Linked DNA regions of Homo sapiens: regions 2 and 3 are each linked to region 1. The links are contacts of gene promoters, found by promoter capture Hi-C in blood cells and fetal thymus (Javierre and others, 2016). All regions are on one chromosome and are shown on one strand. Each heading gives the region's core, a stretch centred on a gene start or on the middle of the fragment in contact. The rest is flanking DNA. Distances are from core to core; before and after follow the strand shown.

Region 1 (2,846 bases), core at 141-2,640:
TATAAGAAACTCCGCAAATGCAGTCAAGTGTTACCTTGTCACTATAATTAAAGTTTTCTTATGCGAGTAAATGAAACAAACAATCCAGCCCCACACAGGGAAAGCCAGCATTGCCTTGGGGGCAGCAGAACGCGGCACAGCACCGCCCGCCAAGGCCGCAAGATGCCGCAGAATGACTGCTGCAGCAGCCGCTTCCTGGCCAGGTGGCCGTGGCCGTCCGCAGAAAGGCACACTGCAGCGCTCTCGCTATACCTTCCGTGCTGGCATTGCATCAGTGTTAAATCCCCTGGCCACCAACTGCCATATACTTTTTGCTGGTTATGAAGAAACGTGGGGAGGGGACAAAGGGGAGACAGAGTGTGCCTGCAAGTGTGAGAGATCACTATTGCCTCACACTCCCTAAAAAATTTCTCCCCCAAATGTTTATAAGCCAAGTACCAACTTACTTCATCTGCCAGGTCCCTAAATCTGAAATCGCCTTGCCCTTCAAATGCACTAAATGAGTCAGGGTTTTAGGGCAAACCCAGGGATACAAGAAGATCGAAAGTGCCCAATTCTTAGCTGCGAGATAAGCACCAAGTTTGGGGTGGAAGAGTTCACCTCTGCCGACCAGAGCGTACTACCCCGGAGCGCTCCTAGTTTAGAGAGGCTTGGAGAGGAGTGGGCCTCCCGTTCCTGGAGTATCCCAATTCCCAGGGAAGGCCCTTCCCGGCGCTCGCGCTTCAGAGTGCGAGGAAACCCCCACAAGCAATAGCTCACCCGGCTGCATTCTTCAAAGCCCCAACCTCGGGGCGGGGCGCAGGGAGGTGGGAGGTGGAGGGTAGCACCGCCGGGAGGCTCCTGTCAGCGCCTCTCGGTTTTCCCCCTGGCTCCTTGGCGCCCCCTGACGACGGGCTCCGCAGCAATTTGGCCGAGGGAGGCTGGATAGGCGGAAGCTCCGGGTGTCCGGGAAGCTAGAGGCACCCGGCCAATGCACCCGCGGACGGCGCGGACTGGCGGGCGGCCCCGCGGGAGGGCGCTGGGCTCTCAGGCCCGGGTGCAGCCCGCGGACGCCGCCGAAACCGCCGCAGCCATGTCCGCGCGCCCGCGCTGCCGCAGCCTGGCCGTGATGTCATCAGCCGAGCCCCCGCCGCGGCGCCCCATTCCCGCCCCCCGCAGGCTGCCGCGGCTGCAGCCTGAGCGCCGCGTCCCCGCCCCGACCCACGTGCGCCCGGCTTCTGGGATGCTGAGGTCGGCGGCGGCCGCAGGACGATGCGCGGGGCCCGGGCGGCCGCGGCGGCGGCGCTGCTCCTCCCCACTCGCCGCGTCCCCGGCGGGGCTGCGCCCGGGGGCTGCGCACGGACGGGGGCGGGGGCGCCTGGGGAGGGAGGGGAGAGGATCCCAGCCGCCGAGTCGCAGCCTCGTCGCTGTCTGCTGAGTCATGGCAAGCGCTCCCCGCAGCCCTGGATCACTCGCGTAGCGCGGCTGGCGCGGGGTGCGCAGCCATTGGGCTGGGCGCGGGGCCGCGAGCGCCAGGCATGACGCGCTGAGCCGCGCTCACCCGTGCCCGCCGTCCCGGCGTGCGCCCAGCGCGGGTGCCTGTGCCGCCGCCCTCCAGCCCCGCCGTCGAGTCGCCCTCGCCTCGCCCGCACCATGATCGCCGCGGCTTTCCTCGTCTTGCTGAGACCCTACAGCATCCAATGTGCCCTCTTCCTCTTGTTGCTTCTGCTGGGCACCATCGCCACCATCGTCTTCTTCTGCTGCTGGCACCGCAAGCTCCAGAAAGGGAGGCATCCGATGAAATCGGTCTTCTCGGGTCGTTCAAGAAGCCGAGGTAAGACACGCCGCGACGGGTTTCTGCGGGCTACCAGGAACAATTAAGCCGATTTGGAGAGTGAAGCGCGGCTCGCTCCCTTCTCCTCGGCTGCCCCTAGCCCCATCATTGCCCACTCCCCAGGCTGAGTGCGTTTCTTTAACGCCCCTTGCCCTTTTTGCCGTCACCTCCGCCCTCCAGTCTCCCAGGTTTGAATAACCACGGCGATGCCGAGGGCAGGGAGGGGAGGAAAGAACTCAAATTTTTAGTCAGTTTGCTAAAGCCTTAAGGGTAATTTGAGCGTAGTCCGGGGCTGCGCCAGCCTCGCCTTCACGCATCCTTCGCTGGAGCGTAGGGGTAAGAAAGTAAGGCATGGAAACTTCGGGGCTCCCCAACTCCCCCAGAACTTTCATGCAAACTTCTCGCGGAGAAATCACGTAGAGACCGATGGCCCCAGGACTCCTCCTCCCTCCCCCAGGATGTCCCACCGAATTCCAGGAGTCTGCGATGTGCTTTCCCAACCCTGGTCTCCCAGGTAAGTCATGAGTCACTCGGTAGGTGAAGAACAAGGAGTTAAATGAAGTCTCATTTATCTCTTTTCTCCCCAGATGCTGTTTTGAGATCGCACCACTTTCGTTCTGAGGTAATTTATTTAGCGCGCACGCTCAAGGTCAGAAGAAGTTCTCTTTCCTGAGTACCAATATTAATTATATGCGTGTTAAGAAACCAGTAGGACACTGAATGACGAACATGCTGTCCCCTAGCCGAAAGTGGCATGTTTCCTTTTAAGTGATTTCATATTAGTGCCCAGCGAACGGTTTTAGCAAATTTCTTGTGTAGTGGAGCTGTTGTACAAGAGGGGAAAAGGCAAACCCTAAAAGTGCTGCAGACCTTAAAAAACTTAGCCACAGGGTGGATGTCACTTGAGTTTACAGTTTATATTTTGCTGGTGGAAGTGTTTTCTGGGTGCTGTCAGTTGACTCTGGTTGTTCACTTGGATAAACGAAGAGGTTAGTGCAGAACAATTTGATCCATATGCATTTCATTTTCGATT
Region 2 (2,846 bases), core at 166-2,665, 290 kb before region 1:
GCTGGGTGCCTGGGTACTCTTCTTCCTTGACCAACTCTCTGCCATTATAATTCAAAGTCACATGTAAATACACTTGGATACATTTGGTTACGCCACATGACTATGTAACATGTAATCCAAGATCTTATGTACACTCCTTAATTCCTCACGTGATCTCATTTTGATCATTAGTACCTGATCCAATTATTTTTTGGCTAAATTCAAAATTCTAAAGCAAACATTGAATTATATGCTATATTAACTAATATACTGTACTCAGTGTCTTGATTTTTTTTAGTCTCATTATTCTTTCTGGATTTCAGAATGAAACTCATGCTCACCCACTAGTCAGGGCTACAAATGTATCCAGAATGACAGTTTATTTTTAAAAGCCCAAATAGTAGGATTCCCTTCTAGGGGAAATCCTTTGAGTCATACAGAAATTAGTTGCCAAAGGTTTCTAGGCCATATCAAAAGGAAACCTCAAGATTCTTTAAATTATTACTTGAAAATTTTTAGTGTCCAAAATGACAACCTAAGATAGGATTTTGATAGTCCCATGAAACACCTCCTCACACAGAGCAACCACATAGAGAACATTTGCATCTCTTCTGCAGCAGCTATAAATGAGAATTTATACTATTACAGCAGTTTTTGCTATTTCTCATGGGTGCCTTTGACATTTACCTAGTGCTCAAAATACACCAAAAATAATTTTGCTCTGAATAAGCCTCAACTATAACTCTGTAATTTATTTCATAATACTTTTTAATCTTCCTTCAAAGCTTACTCATTGATGGATAATTATTAAGCACTTTACAAATTCCCAAAATTATGTGTGGTATAAAAACAGAGCCTTGAAATTTGACAAGCCCTAAAACTCATCACAATCTATCTAGGCCCGAGAAATGATGAATAATCATATACAACTCAGTCAATGTCACCCCTAGATGTTATGGCAATGAAGGAGGGCTAGCCTGAAAGGGATAAACCTAGTTGCCCAGCCACGTAGGAAAGACGATGGATACTCTAGGTGCAGGCAATCAAGAAATCAAGTCCAGGCCGGGCGCGGTGTGGCTCACGCCTGTAATCCTAGCACTTTGGAAGGCCAAGGCGGGCGGATCACGAGGTCAGGAGATCAAGACCATCCTGGCTAACACGGTGAAACCCCGTCTCTACTAAAAATACAAAAAATTAGCCGGGCATGGTGGTGGGTACCTGTAGTCCCAGCTACTCGGGAGGCTGAGGCAGGAGAATAGCGTGAACCCAGGAGGCGGAGCTTGCAGTGAGCTGAGATCGCGCCACCGCACTCTAGCCTGGGCGACAGAGTGAGACTCCGTCTCAAAAAAAAAAAAAAAGAAATTAAGTCCAGGGAGATCATCTGGTACAGGAAGGAGCACATGAGTACTCTATGGGCAGATGCAGAAACTGGCAGGTGAGAGAATCAGCAGGCAGCAGAAATGGTTATCTTGATAGACATCTGCCCAGCTCTCCTTGCAACGGTGGGCTGGCTGCCCCTCCCTGTTCGAGCTGGTTGGTTATCACAGTGTTCTCTCTTCTCTCACCATTCCCCATTCACCTGAGTACAGGCATGGATTTATTAAACAGGCTTAGTAAGTTATAGTACCTACACCCTGATTAGTGCATTGGGGGTAACTGTGCGCTCTGGGGTTTTGAATTGTTGCAACACCATCCTGTCTTTCACTCCTGCTCCTCCCCCATCACCGATAGGACGGCGTATCTCCTGGAGATTGGAGAGGAGCTATTGGTAAGAGTTGGGCCAAAACAAAACTGAGCCAAACTGAAGCACTTCTCCAGCTGTATTTCACTAACATCTTAGGAAACTTATATACTAGCGTAGGTAGAATAGTATTCTTTCTAGTTTCATAGCCATTTTCTGTTGGCCTCTGGGAGTTTTTCACTTCAAATGTAAGTAGTTATACAGGAACAAAGAGAGTTGATACCTTTGAAACATAGACCAAGGAAACATAATATCTTCTCCCCCGTAAATGGGCTGCAGAACAAGTAACACAGGTTTCTATAACACATTTTGTTAACAATTAAATAAGTTACAGGAAGGAAGCTTAGAATAAGAGAAAATAAAATAGTAATTTATAAGGAACTGGAGTTTTTTACAGTGTTGAGATATATGATTTGTAGATATGTGGATAAATGGATGGATAGAGATGCATGTGATACAATAAGTGTGCAAGCACAAAAATAATAGTCTGTTGGCACAAAATCAGAATTAGATTTGTATGTTTTCTATGACTAGAGTGACACCAATCAACTAATCTTTCTCAATAATTTTAAAGCTGTAACTTTATATTAAAAATTCATTGTGCTGCCATTTATAATCAGGTAATCCAAGTGCACTCTCATGCCCCAAACCCCATCCCCTGCACTATCCCAAGACCACTCCCTCCACCTCCATATTCTGGCATCAGAACCTTTACATCTGCAGGCACTCCTGATCTGATAATTATGTTCTTACTGAGCTATTGTTTGATCCCTTCCTTTCCAGAGAAGAGGAAGTATTTCTGAGTGGAAGCAGTTACACCAGACCAGGAGCTTAGACTATCAAAATGCTATCTTAGGTTGTGCTCTAAGAGATGGAGAAAGAGAATCTAGGCTCAAAATCTACAAAACTGAAACCTGAAAGAGGGAAGACAGCAAGGCCTAAGTGGATGAAAGGTGGACATGAGTTGCAGTTCCCTGAGCTAACTTGGCAATTTGGTTACCAAACCTCACACAAAGGCTACCTTGCGAGTTTACTGGCACCTCCAGTGATGGCAAATATAACTAACCCATAAAGCATGTAAGAGGTAGGCAGGTGATGCATCATGGGTGTATGAGCTTCATGCACA
Region 3 (2,846 bases), core at 243-2,742, 270 kb before region 1:
TGATGGCAACTCAATGTTTAAAATAGGTGTTCATGAGGTGTTTCTAGTTATGGGTAAATGAAATGAGAATTCAGCTGCAACAAGGAGACATCTAGTCCTAGGAGGGACTAAATCCATCTGAGAAGCTGCATCTCAACCTGCCTTACACATTTCAAAGGAAGGCACTTTGTGATTTGCAAGTGCATCAAACTATTCAGTCATACCTGATGCACATGGAAGCTCTACAACAATGTTATTTTCATGACCTAGGAAGCTTCATGAAAGTAATGAGTTTATACCACTTCATTACTGAAAAAATCAGCATTAAGACAGAACATTTTTATTTATCACCATCTGAGGCTTCTTTCTGGCTTCTAACTCTAGTTTTGTAGATCTTCTATAAGATATCAAGAAATAAAAACCAAAAACCAGGAGATGCATCAATATTTAAAGTGTTTTATATATTTGTTGAGTAGAAGTGGTTAAAAAATTAAGAATTAGTCCTGGTTGCAAAATAACTTTAAGCACAAAACCTCAATTACTGATTAATGTTGAAAAGATTATATTTAAGAGGTAAAAATATTCTGTCATGAGCATCAAGTATTTGATGCACAAGTATTAGCACAAGTAGAACATTTCCTCACCACTTTTTTGTGACTTAATAATTGTAAATCCAGGGAATGGGCAAGTGGATGAGTTTGAATTCATAACTGCCCATTAAGAGAATTGGATTCTTGTATCAAAACTACCTGTAGGGTATGTGACCTTTACCTACTTTATTTATATGTACAAATAAGGTTAATCAAATAGTCCTTCTACTTATTTTATGAGAGCACTGAGAAAAGAATTTATTTATTCTTTTTTTTTTTTTTTTTTTTTGAGATGGTCTCACCCTGTGGCTGAGGCTGGAGTTCAGTGGCATGATCTTGGCTCACTGCAACCTCCATCTCCCGGGTTCAAGCAATTCTCATGTCTCAGCCTCCTGAGTAGCTGAGATTACAGGCGTGCGCCACAACGCCCAGCTAATTTTTGTATTTTTAGTAGAGATGGGGTTTCACCATGTTGGCCAGGCTGGTCTTGAACTCCTGACCTCAGGTGATCCTCCTGCCTTGGCCTCCCAAAGTGCTGGGATTACAGGCGTGAGCCACTGTGCCCAGCCTACTGAGAAGAATTTAAATTATGGAATGGATGACAAAAACTTGATTGTGAATAAGCTCTTGAAAATGCATCAGATCACTGAAGCGAGGTGAACAAATGTTCCAACAGAAGTGTGAGGAAGAATATCACACAGACGTTTCCTTATTTACCATGAGCGAAGTTCTCAAAAGTCAGAGAGTTGTCTAGTCCAGCCCTTTCCATTAGAGAGGAGGTCTCTCAGTATACTAAGAGTATTTCAACAAAAGTAAATATATATATGAGAAAGACTTGGGCAGTAAAGAAAAAAAAAAGATTTTTATTTTCTAATTATTCTTTGTTAGTAAGGGCCCTAAATCTAGAAGTGTATATGCTGGAACACACTAGACCATAATACAAGAACAATCAAGGACAAAACAAAAAGGAATTTAGAATGAACAGATTATTCCCCGACTCACACTGTGAGGGGTTATAACTAGTCCCTTAGTGACCAATCTCAGCAAGGCAGTCATTCAAGAAACCTGCAAGTCACTCTTTACATTCCGTCTTTTTCCTACACCATAGCCAAATCCTATAGGTTCTACTTCCAAGATTAAAAACAAATGCACTTTTCTGTATCACCCCTGTAACCATCTCAGTCTAACCCTCCATCATCTCTTGCCTGAACCGGCCTTCCATTGCTCTCCCATTTTCCACTACTCTATGTTTTCCCTAGATAGCAGTCAGAGGAATTTTTTAAAACTGTCCAGTGGATCTCCTAGTCTGTGCACTAAAAAATCCTCCAATGGCTTCCCAATATACTTGAGATATAATCCAAATTACCTAATATGACCTGCAAGGTCTTCATGATCTGGCCCCTGCTTCCCTCACCACTGTTCTTTATTTTTTACATACCGCTTTCCACCTCACTCCTGCACACTGGCTCCCTTTCAATTATTCAAACCCAGTGAATTGTTTGCTGCCTCAGGCCATCGTACTTCCTGCTGTCTCTGCTTAAAGGCTTTTTCTGTCTATTCTTCACCAAACTCATTTATCTTTCAGATAACAGCTTAAAAATCACTGTATCAGAAAGGCCTTCCCTTGGTTCTCCAACATAAATTAGGGCTCCCTCTTACATGCTTCCATCATACCAGTTATTTACTTTCACATAATGTCTAAGGGTATGTAATCACTTATTTGTGTATATGTGTGCATATGTGTGTATTTGTATACTTTCTTTTTTGGTCTCCCTTAACACATTATAAGCTCCCAGAGGACACAAACCATCTGCCTTTTGTCTATTACTGAATACCCAATGTTCAGCACAGTCCTTGGCACAATATGTATTTTTTTTAATGGATAAATGACCTTGTAAGGTGGGTAACTCCTTACTATAGATGAGGATACTAAGATCCAAGGTTATTAAGCAACAGAAAAACTGAATCAGTACTCTAATGTCTGCCTAGAAAGTACTAGAAAAAATTTTTTTTCCAGCATGATCTGTTTGAATCTGAAGAACAGTAGATTATTATTGTCTAGCCAAATACTGTGATTTCTACTAGTTTTTTCCAGATGGCCACATATGCATTCATATGTATATGCAGACTTATATTCTAAGTGGTAAAATTTTCAAAGCTTTCTTTCTTGGAAGAAAATATTTTCTGATTTTTCTGTTTTTCTTTCTACTCAGCTACAATTCATGATCCTTGGACACTGTTCAGTTCATTAGAGTCAGACACAATGAAAGAACGAGC

Evidence for each region. Contacts are between HindIII fragments. The CHiCAGO score rates a contact against its expected background, and 5 or more counts as called.
Region 2: a contact is called between a fragment that was not itself captured here and the fragment with the promoter of DST in region 1, in 12 of 17 cell types (megakaryocytes, erythroblasts, total CD4 T cells and 9 more). The highest score is 9.9, in megakaryocytes.
Region 3: a fragment that was not itself captured here is called in contact with the fragment with the promoter of DST in region 1 in 7 of 17 cell types (erythroblasts, megakaryocytes, endothelial precursors and 4 more); the score reaches 7.6 in erythroblasts.

The regions. Positions count from the first base shown.
Region 1 is chr6:56,953,374-56,956,219 of GRCh38, reverse strand. It overlaps DST (dystonin), which reads left to right and starts at 1,390. Exons shown (of 104, transcript NM_001374736.1): 1 at 1,390-1,813; 2 at 2,401-2,435. The coding sequence starts at 1,633. It overlaps BEND6 (BEN domain containing 6), which reads right to left and starts at 1,113. Exons shown (of 7, transcript NM_152731.3): 1 at 760-1,113. RefSeq lists a silencer at 925-1,614 and an enhancer at 1,776-2,407. The HindIII fragment of the contact is 5,182 bases long and covers 1-2,846 here.
Region 2 is chr6:57,245,349-57,248,194 of GRCh38, reverse strand. It overlaps a transcript of PRIM2 not described here. Among named protein-coding and RNA genes, the nearest start is that of LINC03001, 17 kb to the left of the region's middle. The HindIII fragment of the contact is 1,298 bases long and covers 767-2,064 here.
Region 3 is chr6:57,225,654-57,228,499 of GRCh38, reverse strand. It overlaps a transcript of PRIM2 not described here. Among named protein-coding and RNA genes, the nearest start is that of RAB23, 4.8 kb to the right of the region's middle. The HindIII fragment of the contact is 2,474 bases long and covers 256-2,729 here.